Regions from separate parts of the Homo sapiens genome. Here regions 2 and 3 are each linked to region 1. The links are contacts of gene promoters, found by promoter capture Hi-C in blood cells and fetal thymus (Javierre and others, 2016). All regions are on one chromosome and are shown on one strand. Each heading gives the region's core, a stretch centred on a gene start or on the middle of the fragment in contact. The rest is flanking DNA. Distances are from core to core; before and after follow the strand shown.

Region 1 (3,161 bases), core at 388-2,887:
CCCTTTTCCTATTATTAAAGAATTTTAATAAATAATCTACAGTCTAAAACATAAAAAAGAGGAAAATAGGTCCCTCTAGTTATTTTTAAGAAAGTCCCCCTAGAGTTTAATTATTCCTGAGATTTCATTGGAAGGAGTCTACCAAACGGAATTTTTCTGTGTGAATTTTAAAAGATAACCGAGTGCCCAATATTTTAGAAGAAGAAGAAAGGGAGTGGATTAAACGCTAATTCAGTAATACCTGAATTTTAGCAAAACACATAAGTCTATGCGACTGAGGGTGGGAGAGGCTCGATTTTTCCAGTAGACGGCCAAGGAGCGCGGGGGTCGAAAGGACCGGGAGGAGGAAACAGGTTAGGGAAACTGCAGGTCGATGGCACAGAGCGTACTGGTGAAAAAATCCAGCTCTTCCTCGGAAAAAGGGACCGGGCTGTCGAGAGAACCCTGTAGGCTAGGGGAGAGGCCTCCGGATAGCTGGAGACAGGAGTCGGCCGCGAAGAAGTTGAGGTCGGGAAGGAAAGGTGAATCCTGGCGCCCCGAGAAGACGTCTTCTGGCAATGGCCCGGGCTCCAGCCCGCCGGCCCCGCGCAGCGCGCAGCCGGGACTCGACGCGCCTGCGCCCTCTAAGCGAACGGCTAAAGGCCGGGGGTCCGCGCTTAAGGCCCCCGGCACCACCTCCGGCGGGTGACAGCAGGCTTCCCACGCCGCCCGCGAGGCGGAGGGGCCGCCCGGGCTGGCCGCGGGTTCCTCGGCAGGGTCGCAGATGTCCTCCAGGGCTCCCGGGCAGGCAGGCTCCCCATCCGGCGGCTCTCGGTGCTGCGTCTGCCGCTTGTGCTTCATGCGCCGGTTCTGAAACCAGACTTTGACCTGCCTTTCGGTGAGGTCCAGCAAGGCCGCGATCTCGACGCGGCGTGGCCGGCACAGGTACTTATTAAAGTGGAATTCCTTCTCCAGTTCCAGCAGCTGCGTGTTGGTGTAAGCCGTGCGCAGCCTGCGCGCCCCGCCGCCACCAGCCTCCGGCAGTCCCAGGCCATCTGCAGGGAAAACAGGCTCGGCGTCATAGCGGGCCGTGTACTCAGCCCAACCTCAGTTCGGACTACCCCATCCTCCAAAACCAGTATCACCTCTCCCCTTCCTCGCCACCCCACCCCCGCCCCCACCCCAAAGCCGCTCGCTTTACTGCTTTTGGGTTTTCTTCTCTCCCTCTCTAGTCTACAGCCCCGGCCCGGGTCAGGGCAAAGCATTCAGAGCCGCCCACGGGCCACGCAGGGGGCGGAGAGCGGCTCCCTTCGGCGCCGGAACCTCAGATCCCCCTCCCAAGCCCTCCCAGTGGACCCCTCAATTCGGAACTTTCCAACTCAACCGGAGCGAGGGTCAGAAAGATTGTTCTTCACCCCTCTTCCTCCCTAGCTCTGAATTCTTCCTCTTCTCCTAGAGTTGGGGCAGAAAGGACCGAATCTTTTCTGCTTCTAGGGTCTATCCCAGCAACAACATACTCATTCCCCTACACAGATACGGGTGAAAACCTCAATCAAATCATTTTCTTCTAGCAGAAAAAAAGGCGTTTCCCCAACCAGCTTCCAAAATCAGCCATAGGGAGAGAAAGAGAGAGAGAGACAGAAAAAAAAAAAGACGCTGTTAGCGGCCAGGCCTGAACCCCAGTGGGATATTCTACTTCCCCATCCCAGGAATGGAGGGGGTAAGGAACCCCAACAGGCTCGCCACCATTTTTTTTAAACCTCCTTCCACTGCTTTTTCTCCCCCTCTTCTAGCTGCCCCTCACCCCACCCCCACCACGCTTACCGACCTGCAGGCGATCCGACCCCGGAGGCCGGAACGGCGGAGGCGGCCGGAGAAGGAGACGTGGCGGATTGGCTGGGTTTCTTGGCGGATTTCTTCTCTTTCATCCAAGGGAACTCGGGGGCCGGGGGGGCAGCGGGGAGTGGCGGCGGCGGTGGCGGCGGCAGAGCAGGCCCATCTTCGGCTCGCTTTTGGCTCCTGGGTCTCTGAAGGGTGGAGGCGCCGGGCTGGAGGCTGGGGAAGGTTTGCTCGAAAGGAGGAGGAGGAGGAATTAATGTCGACTCCTTGATTGATGAAGTTTGAAATGTCTCCAAGACAGCGGGGAAGGAAGTCAGACACTCGGCGAGCGACGGCTGGCTGTTTATAAACCCAATCTCCCTCTCAAATTCAAAATTCATGGCTTTCAATGGTGGGGGAGGGGGCTGCTGGGGGGGGCGTCAGGAGGGAGGATCGGAAGGGACCCCCCTCCTGCACCCCCCCCGATTTATGTAATGGAGCGATTTTGGGAGGGGGAGATTTCGGTCTCTCTTTTTTTTAATTTTGGGCCTTTATAATTGTATATTGCTGATAAATACAAGCGTATGGGGACTCTCTCTATTAAACCCAGGACTCCAGCGAAATTACAGGGAATTCGTGGTCACGGGACCGGCCTCCGCCAATCGCTCGTCTGGGCCTGGTGGAAAACAGAGAGCATTATTTGGTTTAATTGATTCAAAAACACCAGAGGACCACGACCAGGACACCATGAGCCCCCATTCCTACACCAGTGCCTCACATGCTCTCTCCCCAATGCCTCCGTTTCTCCAGAAAAGCTAGAGGAACCTTTTCCTCATCCCCTTCGAAGGTTAGAAGGTTTCAGAAGCCTGGAAAAGAAGAGACTCTAAGGGAGAAACCTTCCTCTTTTCCAAGTATTTTAATAGAGTAAATTAAGGCCTTCTTTACGTGGCCAGCAGCATCCCCTTCCCTTCTCCCCTTCCCCAGGAAAAGATGAGTGAGGATCTCCGCGTTGGAGGAAGAGGGAGTCGAAAGAGGCTTCCACTCTTTGAAAAAGGTCAGTATTAAGGTGAAAATAAGAAAGAGATTTACAATCATCACACCACTATCCCTGTTACCCTCCAAAAACAACAGTTAAATCTTGGGAAATGGACAGGAACTCCCAGGCAGACACATAGGAGTGAGATGGAGCATAAGGGGCATTTTTGGGCCTCTGGCCTCCATCGCTGTATGGTCTGGGTTCTCTTCTCTGCCCAGTGTTTGCAGCACTGCCTCTGCCCCTTATGTACCCCTGCTTTCCTCACTTTCAGGCTTCCATGCTTCTCTGTGACATCCCCCAAAAACAGGCAGAGTCTAAGATGTGCATG
Region 2 (3,161 bases), core at 331-2,830, 210 kb after region 1:
AAAGCAAAGGGAAATAAGAAGCTGAGAATATGTTTTAATAGTAACAGTCTGAGTGGACAACTCAGTTCTTCCCTCTTCCCCTCATATTCAGGGTAGAGCGGGGAAGGATTTTAAGCTTCAATTTCTGAAATCATGTTGACCTTCTGCCCGCCCTGGTGGGTGCCACTGCACCTGTCCTCAATGTCCCCTTTCTTTCTGTTTAGTTTTACTGTTTCCTGGAGCTCTTCTGAGGCAGTCAGTGTCCAGGCAGGCAAGTGAGTTGTGGTGGGGTAGAGGGTGAGAGGACACTGTTAGACCACCTGGGTGTCACAGAAAGTTTGCTGCAGTCGAGAAGCCTGAAGGAAGGGTGGGGGCTGGGGTGGAGGAGTGTATGGCGAAAGACAACAGTGGTGTGGTGGAGTCCACTGCCTAGGAAAGCACAGACGCACCTCCAGGCGACCCTGCAGACTGGGGTCGGGAAAAGGACAGGCTGAGAAGTCTAGAAAGGCAAAGAAGTTAACGATGTTTGGCAGTCTGAGGTCTTATCAGTGTGTTGGGGTCAGGTGGGGGCCGAGGCAACAAGCTCAGGCAGACGCCAGCCGGGGCTGGGACGGTGCAGGTGAGGAGGGGCTGCCTGGGGGACAGCCCGCCTCACTGACCCAACCTGGGACAAGGTAGTGGCTGGGTTAGGGGCTGGGGTGTGTCTTGGAGCCCCCAGGTGACAGGAGAGGGAGGAAGGGAGTGACTGGTGAAACATTAACCCCCTCAGGGTTCTGAAGGGAAGGGGAACATCCTTAGAGGACACAGGGAGAAGACAAACGTCCCTTCATCCTGAGATTCACTTGGAAATCCCCTGAACTTCCAACTCCTGGCTGATGAAACGGAGCAAGTTGTCTCTGCCTTATGGCCTCCATCACCAAGCCTGAAGGAGAGTCTCTCAGCCCGGTTTGGGAGTAAACCCAAAACCGTTCATTCGTCAGGGAATGCCCCAGGTTGGTTCACGCGAGTTTTAAAATGAATCGGAGGTGAAATGGAGCTCATTACCCTCTCTTCAGCCCGACCCTCAATCTTTGGCAGCGAGGGGCAGTTATGGGACGGGGGGCGGGTGGGAAGAGCGCCCAGGGCCCCCTCCGGGTTCTCCCACGGTTTCCCGCATCTGGGCCTGGCCAGCGCCTTTGGGAGGAAGGGCCTAGGCGCGGTAGGGATGCCTGGGAGTCTAGGGAGTGGCGGGGGTGTTTCTTGGCCCGGCAGGGTGGGGTTTCCAAGCGTGATCTCCTCGCCCTGGCAGAGCCGGGGTGCCGGGTGGGGGCAGGCTCGGGGGCCTGCCTGCGGTGAATCAGGCTTGTGACCTCAGGCCGTCCAGGTAAACATCCTCTGCGCTTTGGAAACTGTTGGGACTAGAAAGGAGCGGGCGGCAGGGAGAGGGAAGGGGGAAGGAGGGATTCTGAGTGGAGGAGACCTCTGAAATCCTCTCTCCTGCCAGGAAACCAGGGCGGTCTTCCAAGCGGGCAGCCACGTTGCCTACTTGAGGCCAAGGCAGAAGCATCAATCACATGGGGCGTAGTTTCTGTCTGGCTAAAGAACGGCTCACGCGGACCTCGGGAATGCGACTGTGGAAACGACGGGGAAGCTGGAAGGGCTGGGTGGCGGGGGAAGCTGGAGGGCACAGCTTCCAGATTCCAGTTTGTTAAGAATCACCTGAAGGACGTTTCTCTGAAGGGAAAGTGGGCATCTGTGAAGGGTTAGAGGCACATACTTCAACTTTCCCTAGCACAAGAGTGGAAATCCATACTCCTTGGGGAGGGACTTTGTCACTGAACCTTAAGAAAATGGTTACTGGACTGAGCTTGGTTACTTATGCCTGTAATCCTGACGTTTTGGTAGATGGAAGTGGGAGCATCGATTGAGGCCAGGAGTTCTAGCCTAGGCAATGTAGTGAGACTCTCATCGAAAAGAAAATAAAAAAAAGAAGAAAGAATCTCGTGGCTGTCATTTTTAATGTTGCTGGTGTGCAGGGAGGCTGTTTTGACTCTTATTTCCATTCTTGGGCCACCGGCAGAGCAGGGCAAAGCTATGAGGTTACATAGACCTGGCTTAGACCCCAGTCCCATTCCCCAGCAGCTTCAGGCCCAAGCAACGGTCTCCATCTCCCTGAACACAGTCTCCTTATAGGTAAAATAACTGCAGAGTTGATGCTGGAATTAAATCAATGCAGTGGCGAGCCCAGCGCTGCAGAGCCCCGTGCTTAGTGACCAAAATAATGTCCCGCCTGCCTCATCTTCCTCTCGGATTTTTGCCAAGGCCAAACTGCGCGTGTCCCAGAAAAAAACCCTCGGACACTTGGCCTCTGCCCTGTCTCAGCCGAGTGACTAGGATGACTGGGAAGTGAATCACAGGAAAATCACCCAAGCCCACTCTTCTCCACAGCCGGTGAGCAGAAGGAAGGAAGCAAAGAAGGAAGGGAGGAAGGGAAGAAGGGAGAGTTCAGTTCCCTTTCGTCGTTCACACAGTGGTCCTCCACACCAGGAAACCTAAGGGCTCTGTGGAGGGCCAGGTGCCGTGGCAGCAACACTCCTCAGGGCCTGTTTCAGCACCCCATTTACGTGGCACATGAAAAATTCAGGATGAACGCCCTGGCTGAAAGCTCTTCCTGGGTTTGGGACATCAGAAGACCTTCCCGGGATGGGCTCTTGTCTCTGCAGTAGCTATGACCTGCACATAAACCTGTTTCCTACACTGTAAAATTGGCGTAACCACCATTCCCTCCCAGTCTTTCTCTGGAGTCCTAATGGGAACAGTGACGGAATGAAAGTGACCACGCTGGAACCCGAAGCGCTGTTCCCCTCCGTGGCTTCACACTGATCTCCACACTAGAATTCCGTGTCTGCAGTTCAAGTTCAAACTACTGTGGTCGGGGAAGGGCTACAGAGATCTCGCTTGGCCGTGGAGTCACCGGCCCCGTCCAGTCTTGCTTGGGACACATACTGGTTTACACTCTCTCGGGTTCAGTTTCCTCATCTGTAAATGGGGCTCGTATCCCCCTCATAAAGTGGTTTGGGGGATAATAAAGCTTGTAAAAGCGCTTTGCCCCAGTGCTTGGCACATAATACGCGCTACGTTAACAATGTCGCGTACACGCCCGAACCGGAGGAACCCCATTCCACGCTCCTTCTGGAACCGAA
Region 3 (3,161 bases), core at 223-2,722, 170 kb before region 1:
ATAAAAAAATGATTAACATTTATTAGCACTTACATGTTAGGCATTGTGCTAGATATACACATATACATATGCATATACATCATATATATTTTTTTGAGACAGAGTCTCACTCTGTCACCCAGGCTGGAGTGCAGTGCACAATCTCCATTCACTGCAACCTCTGCCTCCTGGGTTCACGCGATTCTCGTACCTCAGCCTCCTGAGTAGCTAGGATTACAAACGTGTGCCACCATACCCAGTTAATTTTTTATCTTTTAGTAGAGATGGGGTTTTCCCATGTTGGCAAGGTTGGTCTTGAGCTCCTTGCCTCAAGTGATTTACCCACCTCAGCCTCCCAAAGTGCTGGGATTACAGGCATGAGCCACCACGTCTGGCCCTGTGCTAGGTATATGTTTTACATGTGTTATTTTATTTATTTATTCATTTTTGAGACGGAGTTTTGCTCTTGTTGCCCAGGCTGGAGTGTAATGGTGCAGTCTTGGCTCACCGCAACCTCCGCCTCCCAGGTTCAAGTGATTCTCCTGCCTCAGCCTCCCGAGTAGCTGGGATTACAGTCATGTGCCACCATGCCCGGCTAATTTTGTATTTTTAGTAGACAGGGGTTTCTCCATGTTGGTTAGGCTGGTCTCGAACTCCTGACCTCAGGTGATTTGCCTGCCTTGGCCTCCCAAAGTGCTGGGATTACAGGCGTGAGCCACCATGCCCGGCACATGTATTATTTTATTTAATCTTCATAAAAACCCTAGGAGGTCAGTATTTTTTTAAGACAAGGTTGCATTCTGTCACATAGGCTGGAATGCAGTGGTGCAATCATAGCTTATTGTAAACTTGAACTCCTGGGCTCAAGCAATCTTCCTGCCTCAGCCTCCGAAGTAGCTGGGACTATAGGTGTGCACCACCACACCTGGCTAATTTCCTTTATTTTTCATTTTAGTAGATACAAATTCTCACTATGTTGCCCAGACTGGTCTCGAACTTCTGGCCTCAAGTGATCCTCCTGCTTTGGCCTCCCCAAAGCACTGGGATTACAGGCATGAGCCACTATGCCCAGCCCAGGACTACTATTATCCTCATTTTACACATGAGGAAACTCAAACTCAGGAAGGTCAAACAACTTGGCCAAGATCACATAGCTACTAAGTGGCAGAACCAAGATTTGTATCCAGGTTGTATTAGTCCATTTTCACACTGCTATAAAGATACTACCTGAGACTGGGTAATTTATAAATAAAAGAGGTTTAACTGACTCACACTTCCACATGGCTGCGGAGGCCTCAGGAAACTTAAAACCATGGTGGAAGGTGAAAGGGAAGCAAGCACCTTCTTCACAGGGTGGCAGGAGAGAGAGAGAACATGAGAGAAGTGGGAAGCACTAGACACTTATCAAACAACCAGATCTTGTGAGAACCCACTCACTATCATGAGAGCAGCAAGGGGCAAATCTGCTCCCACGATCTAATCACCTCCCACCAGGTCCCTCCCTTGACATGTGGGGTTTATAATTCAAGATGAGATTTGGGTGGGGGGACAGAGCCAAACCATATCACAGGTCTACTTGGTTCCAGAGCCCAAGCTCTTAAATTCCATATTAACTGCTTTCCTATTGGCTGTAATATATAAAAAAAAATAAATCTGGTACTTAAGAGAAGATACAGTTGTTTTGTTAGATAGCCTATGGGCATGAATCAACCCTAATATGAATATTAGGGAGTGGTTAGACAGAGGTCTTTAACCTGAAGTCCATAGTTTAGGCTTCAGGGGATTTCCTAAACTCTCTAAAATTGTGGGTGAAATGTAACACTTGTTTTCTTTTCTCTTGGAGAAGAGTCTATAGACCTCATTAGTGTCAATAACTCACCCTTGCCCCACACCCACCAAAAATGATATGACCCACTGAATTAGGTGAATAGAGTTGTAATGGCATTATAAAACTAGCTACCCAGAAAGGCCAACATCTGTGATGTTATAACTCTAGAACATCTAGATGAATTTTTTTTTGCAACTGAAGTATTAAAAGTGTTATTTTACCTGTGACTTATGGAAATTTAAAACACATCATATACTCTCTGCCTTGGTAAACTCCTGCTGAACAAAATCAAATCTCTTCTTAATGACTTAAGGACATCCAAATTTGAACTTCTCTTTTTTGTTGTTTTTGAGACAGGGTCTTGCTCTGCTGCCCATGCTGGAGCGTAGTGACACAATCTCAGCTCACTGCAACTTCTGCCTCCCAGGCTCAAGCCATCGTTCCACCTTAGCTTCTTGAGTATCTGGGACTACAGGCACGCTCCACCATGCCTGGCTAATTTTTGTTTTTTTTTTTTTTGTACAGACAGGGTTTCACCATGTTGCCCAGACTGGTCTTGAACTCCTGGACTCAAGCAATCTGCCTGCTTGGCCTCCCAAAGTGCTGAGATTACAGATGTGAGCCATTGCATTCAGCCTGAACTTCCTTTTTGTACTAAAACAGCAATGCCTTCTGAATGCATAGGCTGTCTGCAATACTCAGTGTCCAAAGACTTCTATCTCTCTCTTGACCATCTCTGTTCTCTGATAATGGCTGTCTCCAAACAGACTGCAAAGGCTAACACTGAAGAGTTATCCTGCATTGAAAATGGAATCTTAGGATTCAGACGGACACCTAGTTGGGCATGGATTCCATGCAAGTTGATAAGGCTAGGAAAACCCCTTGCAACTGATCTTGAGCAGTCAGCCACATGGTAGAAGTTTATTTATGCCCAAGGAAATGGCTTTGCTGAGCAATGCTAAGAGTCTGTACACTAAATATTTCCTATAATTCTTTTTCTCACTTGGAAAGATTCACATTGCTTCCAAATTATCTTCTGAAAGTGTCCCATCTACTACCTTGCAGAAGGTATGGACTAGTGGCAAAGAGTAACATGGCCAGTGACACCCAACAACAGAAATGGGAAAACAGCACCATCTGGTGGAAGTCCCCAGTGGAGGCATCCAAGGCCTGGGACCCAGGGGTCCAGGTACCAGCCTTAGAAACAACTGGGCAGCAAAAGGAAGGTCTTTGGTGGAAGAGCTGGTGATCCTTCTAGTCCCAATTCCTTAATCTCACCAAAAGTACAAGACCTAATGCCTACCTACAAGGAGCTTACAATCTAGTCCAAAATATTAGCTCTTTGTATATAATG

What was found. Contacts are between HindIII fragments. The CHiCAGO score rates a contact against its expected background, and 5 or more counts as called.
Region 2: a fragment that was not itself captured here is called in contact with the fragment with the promoter of HOXB-AS1 in region 1 in 1 of 17 cell types (total B cells); the score reaches 5.4 in total B cells.
Region 3: a contact is called between a fragment that was not itself captured here and the fragment with the promoter of HOXB-AS1 in region 1, in 1 of 17 cell types (total CD8 T cells). The highest score is 5.2, in total CD8 T cells.

Annotation. Positions count from the first base shown.
Region 1 is chr17:48,542,714-48,545,874 of GRCh38, forward strand. HOXB-AS1 (HOXB cluster antisense RNA 1) reads left to right here and starts at 1,638. Exons shown (of 7, transcript NR_102279.1): 1 at 1,638-1,699; 2 at 2,408-2,644; 3 at 2,782-2,851. HOXB2 (homeobox B2) reads right to left here and starts at 2,396. Exons shown (of 2, transcript NM_002145.4): 1 at 1,808-2,396; 2 at 1-1,034. The coding sequence starts at 2,198. The coding sequence ends at 355. RefSeq lists a silencer at 522-811 and an enhancer at 619-1,264. The HindIII fragment of the contact is 10,206 bases long and covers 1-3,161 here.
Region 2 is chr17:48,751,653-48,754,813 of GRCh38, forward strand. It overlaps LOC105371812 (a long non-coding RNA gene), which reads left to right and starts at 776. Exons shown (of 2, transcript XR_007065830.1): 1 at 776-971; 2 at 1,463-3,062. RefSeq lists enhancers at 965-1,882, 1,935-2,924. The HindIII fragment of the contact is 2,934 bases long and covers 114-3,047 here.
Region 3 is chr17:48,371,896-48,375,056 of GRCh38, forward strand. All of the region lies in intron 2 of SKAP1 (src kinase associated phosphoprotein 1), which reads right to left. Among named protein-coding and RNA genes, the nearest start is that of SKAP1, 57 kb to the right of the region's middle. The HindIII fragment of the contact is 4,305 bases long and covers 1-3,161 here.